3 separate regions of the Homo sapiens genome follow, and all the other regions are linked to region 1. Evidence: promoter capture Hi-C in 16 types of primary human blood cells and fetal thymus (Javierre and others, 2016). All regions are on one chromosome and are shown on one strand. Each heading gives the region's core, a stretch centred on a gene start or on the middle of the fragment in contact. The rest is flanking DNA. Distances are from core to core; before and after follow the strand shown.

Region 1 (3,673 bases), core at 661-3,160:
GGGAACTGCAGCAATTAGGGATGGGGGAGGGGAAGCATCAGAGAGGCTAAGGGCATCTCAAGAGAAAGACAGGATCTCTCCTAAATTAAGCGGATGACTGCCTATGTTCATCTTCCTTAACACTTCTTTGTTATAATTCATCTTAATAGTGTGATATTTGTTTAAAAGTTGATAACGCATCAATTATGTCTCTTATTTTGGATTCTCGACTATTCAAAATAAAATATTATGATCAAGTCCATCCAGAGTCAATACAAGACATTGCAGAATCATTAAAGAAAGACCTGTCAATTCAAATAACGTTAGGCATGCACCTAAGAATTCCACAAATACAGATACCAGGTCTGAAACGCAGCCAGAAAACCAACAACTCAGTGTAAGAATAACAAAAAGTATACGCTCGAATCTTTCTAAATAAATGACTGAAACGACTTAGCTGATTATTTTCTCTATCATTTGCACCTTTATTTTTGATTTACCCTTAGTCAAAAGTTACTTGCAACGTTAAATAAAATTAGTTAAATATGAGATTAATAAAAGAAAAAAACTTGTGTTCAAAATATTTAGAAAATGAGCTTCTACAGGCCAGTGTTTTGTCAGATTTTGAATTTCTATAAAATAGGGGGCAGGGGGCTTGTTGTAAATATTTCACACTTAATTCGTTTGTTATTTTAAAGCAACCCGCCCCTTATAGCTTAACTGTGGAATATATACAATGATAAGGAGAAGTTCTCTTGGAATTGTAAACGTGCTTTAGCTGTCGCGATCTGAAATAATAGGTTAGTATTAGGTTACAAGATAGAAAAGATAGATGGTTTGTTTTGATAACATTTTGACTTGGAGATACTTGGGCATTCAAAGTTGAAGATTTCACCCAGAAGCATTCCAAAGACTCCTTAGGTGACTTTTAATGTGAAGTCATAAAAATACAAAACGTAGAATCTGGGAATGAGTGATTAGGCCGGGGATGGTTTGCCCGAAGCTATTTAGTGTGCTTTAGTGTTTAACAAACATTCAACGCGTGTTGTATTGCAAACGCAAAAAAAAGCAGAAATTACAAATTCACACACGCTAGAAATCTAGGGATCCTCAAACTTTGAAAATATATCGCCACGTCTTGGAAAATTAAAAAGATTTATCTTTACCTAAAGGAGCTCAAAGGGTTTTTTGTTTTTTGTTTTTGTTTTCCGGTTTTTTTTTCCCTACTCGTGACGACAGTGACGTACTCTAACGAGCTGTGATCGATTTCAGTTCCTACCGCCCGGACTGCAAGGCGGGCTCGCAGAGGAAGCGTTCTGTCTTGACTCAATTACGCTCTATTTAGCGCCCTATCAGTTTACTCCAGGAACCAATATTACAGAAGGACTCAGGGATCCGTAGGCGACCAGACCCTACAGCGAAAGGAGAATCGCTCAGAGGCAACCCGGTGCTGGATCTCTCCCTCCCTCCGCCCTCCGCCCCCAAAGGCTGCAGCAGCAGTAACACCGCTTCATAAAGCGAGCACCTTCCACTACCTTCCTCCACCTTCCAGGTCCCTCGCTCCCACTTTTCTCCTTTCTCCCTCCCTGCCTGATCAGACCGATCCTGCATTTTCGATTGCGGAAGGGCTGCGGCGGCTCCGGCTGGGGCGCTAGCGACTCACCGCTGCTGTCCTGACAGGGCGAGGTCCTCTCCAAGCGCACGTGATGCTCGGCGCGGGGCAGGGGTCCGAAGGCCTGCACGCATTTGCCTGCAGACGCTTTGCTGTAAAAGGACTCATTGTCCAGCGTCTCCATAACGTGCTCCAGAGGACCTCCTGCGCCCATGTAAAAGTCACTGTTTTTACTCGGAGGGCTCTTGAGGGCAAACTTCTCGCTCAGAAACTCCATAATCCTGGAAGACTGTCGCGTAGCTCCTGGGGCACAGAAACTGGAGAGCGCTGGGGGAGGGAGCCAGTGGGTGGGAGGAGGGAGGGCCAGAGAGGAGGGAAGGGAAAGCGAGCGCTGCGGCGTCGGGAACTGCCCCGCTCCGGTCCCTTTAATACGTCCCGGCTGGAAAAGGAGCACCCGAAGTTGCTTTTATATCTTGAAACTCAGCTGGCCTCCTCGGGCAGCCTCCCAGTTCTAATGAATATGAAAATAGGCGGGCGACTAACTCCACCCCAGGTCCCCCTCCGCCCCTACCCCACCCCCATTTTCCCCACTTACCCGGGCAGAGGGCGTCCAGGCCTAGGATAGACAGACAGACAGCTCCATTTCAGACAAATGCCAGGAGAGACGAGCCCCTGACACCCAGATTCATTGCCGCCGTGACAGTGGACTGGCATTTCGGAAGATCTTGGTGAGATCGCAAAGCAGTTAAACCTCCACTCCCTACTGCCTGCGCCTTCCTGAGCCACCCGTCCCCACCCCGCCCCCATGCCGGCCACTCACTACCAGAAAGATTTAGAGGCGTCTTAAGAACTTGAAAGGAAATATTGCTCTAAAAGGCTTTTATTTCATCCGTAAATCGTTTACGTGGAAGATTCACATTAATCCGAAGCCCAAGGAACCAGATGCATTGGCAACTGTTAATCGCAGCCGCCGTAGTAGAGGGGCCGCTTCGGCTTCTAACCGGGAGGAGCTCGGGGTCCGGGCCAGCTGGGAGCTTTACGAGGCCGTGGCCTTTTCTTTTTCTCTGGAATGCGGCGGAGTGTGGACGCGGTGGCGATGGGTGGGAGAGAGAAGCCGAGCAAGAGGCAATGAAGCCATTATACTAATGCCAACCAATTCCCTACACCCTCTTCGCCACCCTTCCCTTTGGTCCACGATTTTATCATTAGACCCAAATTATTTTAAGAAAACCCGTTAGGATCAGTGCCTTTGAAAGGCTTTTACTCTAATGCCAAAGTGAGGATTGTTACAAATAGGGGTTTATGAAGAAGAGGAATGTCTGCATATTTTTACAGAAATTACTTTTAATTTTAAAGAGTTGCTGTGGAGTTACTCCGAAAAGCGCTCTGGGAGTGAGTGGTGAGCGCGCGGAGCTGCGGGCACTCGCGGCGCGGCGTCCTGGGCGCGGACAGGTCCAAGGCCTCCATTTCCACCAGAGGGGATGGTAGGGCAGGCAGGACAGCACTGCTAGGTTGAAAGCCCTTCTGTGTGACTTTTGGCACGACTCTTGGCTTCCTAGGAGCCCGCGGCGCTTGGGGGAAATGCGTTCGGTGCCCTGGGCACAAAATCGCATTTGCGTCAGGCACCCTAAGCTAGCAAATTTGGTGAAAATAAGCCAGACAGGTTTTGGTCCAGGTAGGCCTCTGCTTAGACGTCCTGACACAGCCTTTGTCAACACTGGCACTCACAGCGGCCGTCGCGTTTCCCCAGACAAGTCTGGCAATTATGGTGAGGCCTCGGGCAGGCCGAGCAGCCCGGACTCTGAGGATGGTGAGGCCAAGCCCAGCTGTGGTGGGCATGCTGATGGGTTTGAGAGTTTCCACCTTCTGCGGGGGTCTTAGCTGACCCACGCCTCTTTGGTGAGACCTTCTTCGAGACCTGACCAGGCCTCAGCCAGAGAGTAACAATCAGGGAGGGCTGTGCACCCCGGAGCTGCTCCTTAGCGTTGCGCGAAAGGCAGGGTCGGCCTTAAGCACCCAGATCCGACCGGCGGATCCCGAGCAGATCAGCTGGCAGCAGCAGCCTTGCTCGCCCGGCCAAAG
Region 2 (3,673 bases), core at 528-3,027, 640 kb before region 1:
CCAAAGACACAAGAAGCCTATAAATACACACACACACACACACACACACCACCACCACCACCGCCACCGCCACCGCCACCGCCACCGCCACCACCACCACCACCACCACCACCACCACTTTTGGAACCTAAATCCCTTGAAACAATTTTCTATTTGTATATCTCTTACCAGACTGCTTGATATCCTGTTTGGGGGGCATGGGGGAGGCTAATTTTGGTAACATGTTATTATTTGCAGTGATTTGTCAGATTGAGCAACTGGGGATTGCTTACTTTAAGTGGCACCTCTCTCTCAAAGAATTTCTAAAATGGCACTGTTGGGCCTTCCTAGAAGGAGCAAGGATATAAAGACATCTGTTTCATTCATGGGAAAATTGAGAACTTTTTTTTTTAATGTCTAATGTTTGAACTCATGGAAGGAGAAATCCTCTTTCTATAAGTTTGCCAGCCCACCTATCCATCTATCCATCCATCCATCCATCCCTCCTTCCCTCCGTCCATCCATACATCCATCCATTCATTTAGTCATTCCTTCACTTATTTAATAAATGTTTATTATGTTTTAACAAATTTGACTTCCCTGGACATATACCAGGTTTTCTAAGTATATTATAATTTCCAGGGTTTCCTTCTCTACTAAGCCTCAGAAAATCATATATAAAATATATGACCTTATATACTAGTTGGTAAGGAGATGAACAACTTAAAGGTGGTAGCTTTATAGCTTATTTTGTACTGTTAAACTTCATTAAATGAAAATTATTTTTATAAATAAAATTATTTTTATTCCAATTTGGACACAAATAAATATATAAATATAATTTTTTAATTTTAAAATTCAAAATATATAATGTGATATATGGTCATTATTCATTGAGCTCAAATTTTATTGGTTATAATATTATGCAAGAAATGCTGGCCTACAATGTTAAAGAACGAATTGGCATTTCTCTTTTCATATGAGTTGAAAAATTTGAATAGGGGAGACTATTCAAAGCTTGGCCAGATACAGCAAAAAGATAGAGAAATAGGGGATGGGGAGACTATTTTGTATTTGTATTTTGTATTAGCACCATTTTCTTATGGTGGCTCAGCAAGGGAATTCTGAGCTAAACTGAGGGCTCCTTGCAATTAAAAAGAAAAATATTTATTTAGAATAAAAGCCAGAGTTATTTAGTAGGGCACATATTCTTATTAAATACTGTCTAGACTGTATAGTCTTTATAAAGAAATTAATATCCTGTTGATGCTGTATGTTTGTCTTCAAGTATGTAAGCAGAAATTTAGCCATAGTCACTGCTAGTGGGAAGGGTCTGAATTATTTCCCCTCCTGCCTTCCACAGAACTAGTGATTATCTCTCTAAGCAGATGAGCAGAGAAAATGAAAAAAGAAAGTAACATTAAAATGTATTCATCTCTTCTCTCTTTTCAGTATTTGTTGACTGTTAAGGCTTTCTGACATCAAAGGTTATAAAAGCTTTGCTTTTCATATCTGTTGTAACCACTAGGTGGCAATATAATGCAAAAAATAAAAATATATTTTAAACGCCCTCTTTAGATTTGCTTATCGTCACAGGTAGTCTTTTCCGTGCATCTCTGAAATTTGTCTATAATTCCAAAATTAGATCCTATAATCTATGCACCTATCTTTGTATCATTTTTATTTCTCTGTTCACATCCTTGAAATTATGAATTGTGCAAGAAAACCCATCTGCCTTATACTCCTAAATATAAGATTATTTATAGATATACAATCACAACAATAAGTTATGCTAATGGCAACTTTAAAATGCCATATAAGGTGATGTAATAAAGATTATTGGAATGTGTAAAGATAACTTATAGGTTCTCTTTTTCCGGTACGATCAGGAAATGAAGTTGTGTTTTTTAGTTTTTAAAGAGAGTAATTAACTTGACTATTTTCCAAGATAATTAAAATGCTATAAAAATATTCTGTATTTTTATCTCATCTTTGATTATTCTAAAGGAGGTCCATGTGAATTAGGCCCCAGGATTTACAATGCCTCAAAGTAACTGAGGAGCAAAGGTTAACTCCACAGTCAGAGAACTCGAAGCTTTTGAATATACTGACATCAGGCCTGGCGCGGTGGCTCACTCCTGTAGTCCCTGCACTTTGGGAGGCTGAGGCGGGTGGATCACGAGGTCAGGAGTTTGAGACCAGACTGGCCAATATGGTGAAACCCCGTCTCTACTAAAAAAATACAAAAATTAGCTGGCGTGGTAGCACCTGCCTGCAGTCCCAGCTGCTCGGGAGGCTGACGCAGGAGAATCGCTTGAACCCGGTAGGCGGAGGTTGCAGTGAGCCGAGATCGCGCCACTGCCCTCCAGCCTGTGTGACAGAGTGAGACTCCATCATCTCAAAAGTAAATAAATAAATAAACTGACATTAAGTTTCTTTATCTATAGCACAAATGTGTTTAAATAACCTGCCACTCATCAAAATATCTTTAATTATCTATTATTCTTTTAAATTTATATACCAATAGTCATTCTAACCTATTTTCACCACCATAAAAGTATTGAAGTAAATGGAGACAAATTCTTGATAAATTATTGTGACGCTCCTTTCTAAGGCAGATGATATAATCTTGCATACAGAAAGCCCTAAAGATTCTACTTAAAACATCACTTAAAATGAATAAACAAATTTAGTAAAGTAGCAGGATACAAAATCAACACAAATTATTTGTGACCCTATACTTTAACAATGAACAATCCAAAAAGAAAATTAAGAAAACAAATCTGTTTACAATAGTACCAAAAAGAAGAAAATACTTAGGAATTAACCAAGGGAGTGAGAGACTTGTACAATGAAAACTACAGAACACTTATGAGAGAAATTAAAGAAGACATCAATAAATGGAAAGATATCCTATATTCTTTAATTGGAAGACTTCAAATTGTTAAGATGTCAATACTTCCCCAAACAATTTAAAGATTCATTGCAATCCCTATCAAAATCTCGACATTGTTTTCTAAAGAAATAGAAAAATAAATCCTAAAATTAATATGTAACCTAAGGGGCCTCAAATCACCAAAATAATCTTGACAAAAAAGAACAAAATTGGATTACTCATACTTTCTTATTTCAAAACTTACTACAAAGCTACAGTAATCAAAACATTGTGGTACTGGAATAAAGACAGACTTACAGTCCATTGTAACAGATTAAAGATCCCAGAAATTAATTTTGGCATATATGGTCAAATGACTTCCTTAGTGGTGCCAAGACCATTCAATAGTAAAAGAACAGTAAAAGTGGTGCTGGTAAAAAGATAACTTACAGAAGGAAAAAAAAAAAACAAAAAACAGCTTTACAAATCACATGTCTCGTAAGGGACTAACACCTATAATCTGTAGAAGACTCTTAAAACAGCAACAAAAACCCCAATTCAAAAATGGACAAAGGACTTAAATAGGTAAATATATTTTTAAAAATCAAGTATATTTTTATGAAGTGATAACAAATTAAGTTATTGTTTATAAGAACAATAACAATATTATGTAGAAATAAATTTAACAAAACATTGCAAGAGCTCTATGCAAAATTATCTTTTTTTACTTTTGAGGGAGATTAAAGGAGTGTTAGAAAAAAGATATGCCAGGTATGTGGATTATAAAATTCAATATTTTGAAGTTGTTCATTTTTCTAA
Region 3 (3,673 bases), core at 545-3,044, 620 kb before region 1:
CTATCATATTTCTCTATGGAATTGCCTATTTTGCATATTTTGTATGATTGGAATCACGTAACATGTTATTTGTAACTCACTTTAATATGTATAACATTTTGAGTTATACTATATTTTGTTTACCTATTCGTCAATTGATGGAGAGCTGTGTTTCCCCTATTAACTATCATAAATGCTGATGGTATGAACATTTGTGTGCAAGATTTTGTGTGGACACGTTTTCATTTCTCTTGCCTATATATATCTAGGGGTAGATTAGAAACCTCTTTTCACTGCCTGTGCCATGATGATCCTCCCTGAGGAACAAGTTGTTAGGGAAGGAAGAATTGGAGTCATCATCTAGCTGCCACCACTGCCCAGTATATATCTTCAGCAACGCAGAGCCAGGTAAGACGGGATCTGACCATGTTTTATTTGTTATTGAGTCCACCCAAAATAGCAATTCCATACTATTTAATAGAAAGTTGGGGGATATGAAAACTACCACTTTGCTGTTGAGCCCAGAAAAATTACTCTTTCAGCATACAGAACTGTGGAGGAATGGGTGCAGCTCTGAGTTCCAATGACATGACCTGCCCCGCTCTTACCAAGTTCTGTAGATGTGCTGAGTAAATGCCTCTTAATTTGTTACAAGTTCTTCAATCAATTTGGATAGATTTTGAATATTTTATTTTTCATGTTTTTGATACCTTTAATAAAATGTCTCCTTATGGGAGAGGTTTCATAGAAAACGTCACATCATCATTCCCAAAGTCACACCACAGATGACTGATTTATTTTTCATTTCCTATTTATTTTCTGTTTTTCTTCTCAAGCCATCTTCAAGATTTATTGAACTTATTTTTCCCCTTTATTTATCTCCTTTCCATGTTTTTTTTTCTTTGCCAGTTTACAAATTACTCTATACCTATTATTTTGGTGTATACTTTGAGTCATACATCAATCGATGTATTTAGATGTTCTGAAATAATTCAACAACTTAAATATTTTAGCCTCCAACTCCTTTCTTTCTAATATGAAGATGCTGATGAGTGTTTTGATTCAATCAAAAGTTTGCCTTTTTTAATCCCTCAAAGTTTATACTATTACTCTCCCTAATGTAGTCTATTGGCGTTTTGATTTAGCTCATATTTACCAATACCTTTACTCACCACTTCTTCTTGCATCCCAGGTATTTTAATAGAATTATTTTCTTTCCAAAATTATTTTCTATGCTGTCAAAATCTCTAAATTAAAGAAATGATCGTTATTTTTTACTTGCTCTTGAAATGTTCTATTACTGGGCACAGAAATCTCAGCTGAGAGTTATTTTTCTTGACACGTTAAAGACGATTCACTGTCTTCCGACTTCTATTGTTACTGAGAATTCAATTCAGTCTATTTACCAGTTTTTAAGTGATTAGATTATGTGGAGTTAGAAATAGTTTGCTGCTTCTAAGAGTTGTTTGTGTTCTGTAGTTTCACTAATAATTGTCTGTATATAAATATTGTTTTATTCATCCTGCTTGGGAATCCTTAAACTTTCTGTAAGTGCTTAGAAATCTCTTTAAATTTGTCTGTGCCTCACATTTTCTCAATCCTCTGTTTCTTAGGTTCTATGTCATATTTCCTATTTATGCTGCATTGTAGAAATTTATTTTACTTTACATTTTAGCTGCTTTGGTTAGTCCTTATCAGGGGAAGCTTGTCAGTAGGAATGATTTCTGGTCTATGTGGTGAAGGATTTATAAGGCAAAAGGAGATTGGGAGGTGATTTGATCATAATTTTAGCTTTAATAAGAGAAAATCTTAAAATTACAACCAGCTTAACAAAACATAAGTGTTTTTTCTTTCTCATATAAAAATCCAGAGGTGTATCATCCAGGGCTAGTGAGGTGCCTCTGCTTCTCAGTGACTTAAGCTTCTTCCAAGTCGCTGTTGTGCCACACTTTGTGTGTTTCCCCAGACCTTATGGTCCAAGAAGGCATCTGTGTTACAGGAGGCAGGATTGAGGTAAGATGAAACACAGGGTAAAAAGAATTTCTGTCAGTGCTCTGTTCATGAGCATATCCCTTTGCCTGAACTTATTCATCTGAAAAAAACATGTAATACTGAAAGGTATTATTTACACACAGTTGGAAGGATGTCTTTATACTGGTGTTTGCAATGCTATTCACAGTGTCTCAGAAAGTAGGTACTCAAGAAGTATTTGTTAATTAAAAGAAAATTTAATTAATTTTAATAACTAGACCCTTTTTTGCATCTTGATGAAATTGGTATCAAAATTCTTTGGAAAAAAAAAAAGAGTCTGAAAACAAAACAAAGCTTTAAGACTTAAAACCCTAAATAATGATGTTCTCAGAAAACTAACCTGGCCTTGGTACTCATCCTGGTGTCTTTGTGATTATCACTCAGAATTTCATGAAACTATTTTGGCAACTCTATTATTTGGTTGTATTTGGGCACATTTTAGATAGCAAGAAGACATTTTAGAAGGAGAAAAGTGAACATATCTAAACTGCTCTCTATGTTGACAGTTTTCCCTTGATTAAAATTTGGTTAGGAGAGCAAATGAGTCGAACTGCTTACCTGAGGACAGTTAAACAGCCAGCTTCCATCTACTAGAAAAGTGGTAAGTTCTTCAGTAAGCAGGAATTAGCTTTACAAGCATGAAACAGGATACTTTAACACTCACTGAATTTAAATCCAGGGACATGAAGGCTTTTCTTGTAAATGTCAGATATCTTTTCTTTCATTAGACTGTCCCATGCTGAAGGTAGCCTCACAGTACATTGCTTTATGCCTCCTTCCAAAGTTACCAATAATAATATAGCAAGAAATAGTTTAAATTCCTCACTTATTTTTCCCCAGGACCCTGCTGAGAACACTCAAAAACTCTTATGTAGATTTATTTATACATATTTCCAGCTGTTAGTATTTCAGTACTCATGAGAATTCTTCTCCTAAAGTCTGTATATTGAATGCCCAATAAAAGTCTAATGTAATTTTAATTGGAACAAAGTAGACATCAGATGCAGTCATTTATGAAAAGCTTGGAAGCACTAAAAGATTTTCTGTCATAGAAAACCTAACTTCAGTTAGACTGTTGTTTTTAAACAGAGAAAACTTATTTTGGGTTGGTCCTGGTTAGAATAGCAATGCCTGGTGGAGGGAGTCAATTTGTTCACCAGGGTAGGTGGGCTCAGTAAGAGGATATTAAGCCTGGGATGCCTCCTGGATGAATTTCAGACAGCTAGGGCAGCTCTTTCTTGAGGACTTCAATGCATGTGCTACTTATCATAAACTGAGCTGGATAAGCAAATTTCTGACAGCGCTAGTTCCATAGACGACAGTGGCACTCCAATTTTTGGTACAGCCTCATTACCATTCTGAAATAGAAACCAAAAAACTGCTATACATAGAATATTAGTATTCATACGGGATCTTACAGTTGGTTCTTTTTTTTTTTTTTTTTTTTTTTTTTTTGAGATGGAGTCTCGCTCTGTAGCCCAGGCTGGAGTGCAATGGAGCTATCTTGACTCACTGCAACCTCCGCCTTCTGGATTCAGGCGATTCTCCTGCCTCAGCCTCCTGAGTAGCTGGGATTACAGGCGACCCCCATTACGCCCGGATAATTTTTGTATTTTTAGTATAGACAGGGTTTCACCATGTTAGTAAGGCCCATCTCAAACTC

What was found. The method cuts DNA at HindIII sites, captures the fragments that hold promoters and counts their contacts. A CHiCAGO score of 5 or more calls a contact.
Region 2: a contact is called between a fragment that was not itself captured here and the fragment with the promoter of ALX1 in region 1, in 3 of 17 cell types (megakaryocytes, M1 macrophages and M2 macrophages). The highest score is 6.1, in megakaryocytes.
Region 3: a fragment that was not itself captured here is called in contact with the fragment with the promoter of ALX1 in region 1 in 1 of 17 cell types (M1 macrophages); the score reaches 5.3 in M1 macrophages.

Annotation. Positions count from the first base shown.
Region 1 is chr12:85,278,457-85,282,129 of GRCh38, reverse strand. ALX1 (ALX homeobox 1) reads right to left here and starts at 1,910. Exons shown (of 4, transcript NM_006982.3): 1 at 1,643-1,910. The coding sequence starts at 1,868. RefSeq lists a silencer at 1,525-1,819. The HindIII fragment of the contact is 8,678 bases long and covers 1-3,673 here.
Region 2 is chr12:85,918,374-85,922,046 of GRCh38, reverse strand. No RefSeq gene overlaps it. Among named protein-coding and RNA genes, the nearest start is that of NTS, 46 kb to the right of the region's middle. The HindIII fragment of the contact is 598 bases long and covers 1,479-2,076 here.
Region 3 is chr12:85,898,611-85,902,283 of GRCh38, reverse strand. No RefSeq gene overlaps it. Among named protein-coding and RNA genes, the nearest start is that of NTS, 26 kb to the right of the region's middle. The HindIII fragment of the contact is 217 bases long and covers 1,686-1,902 here.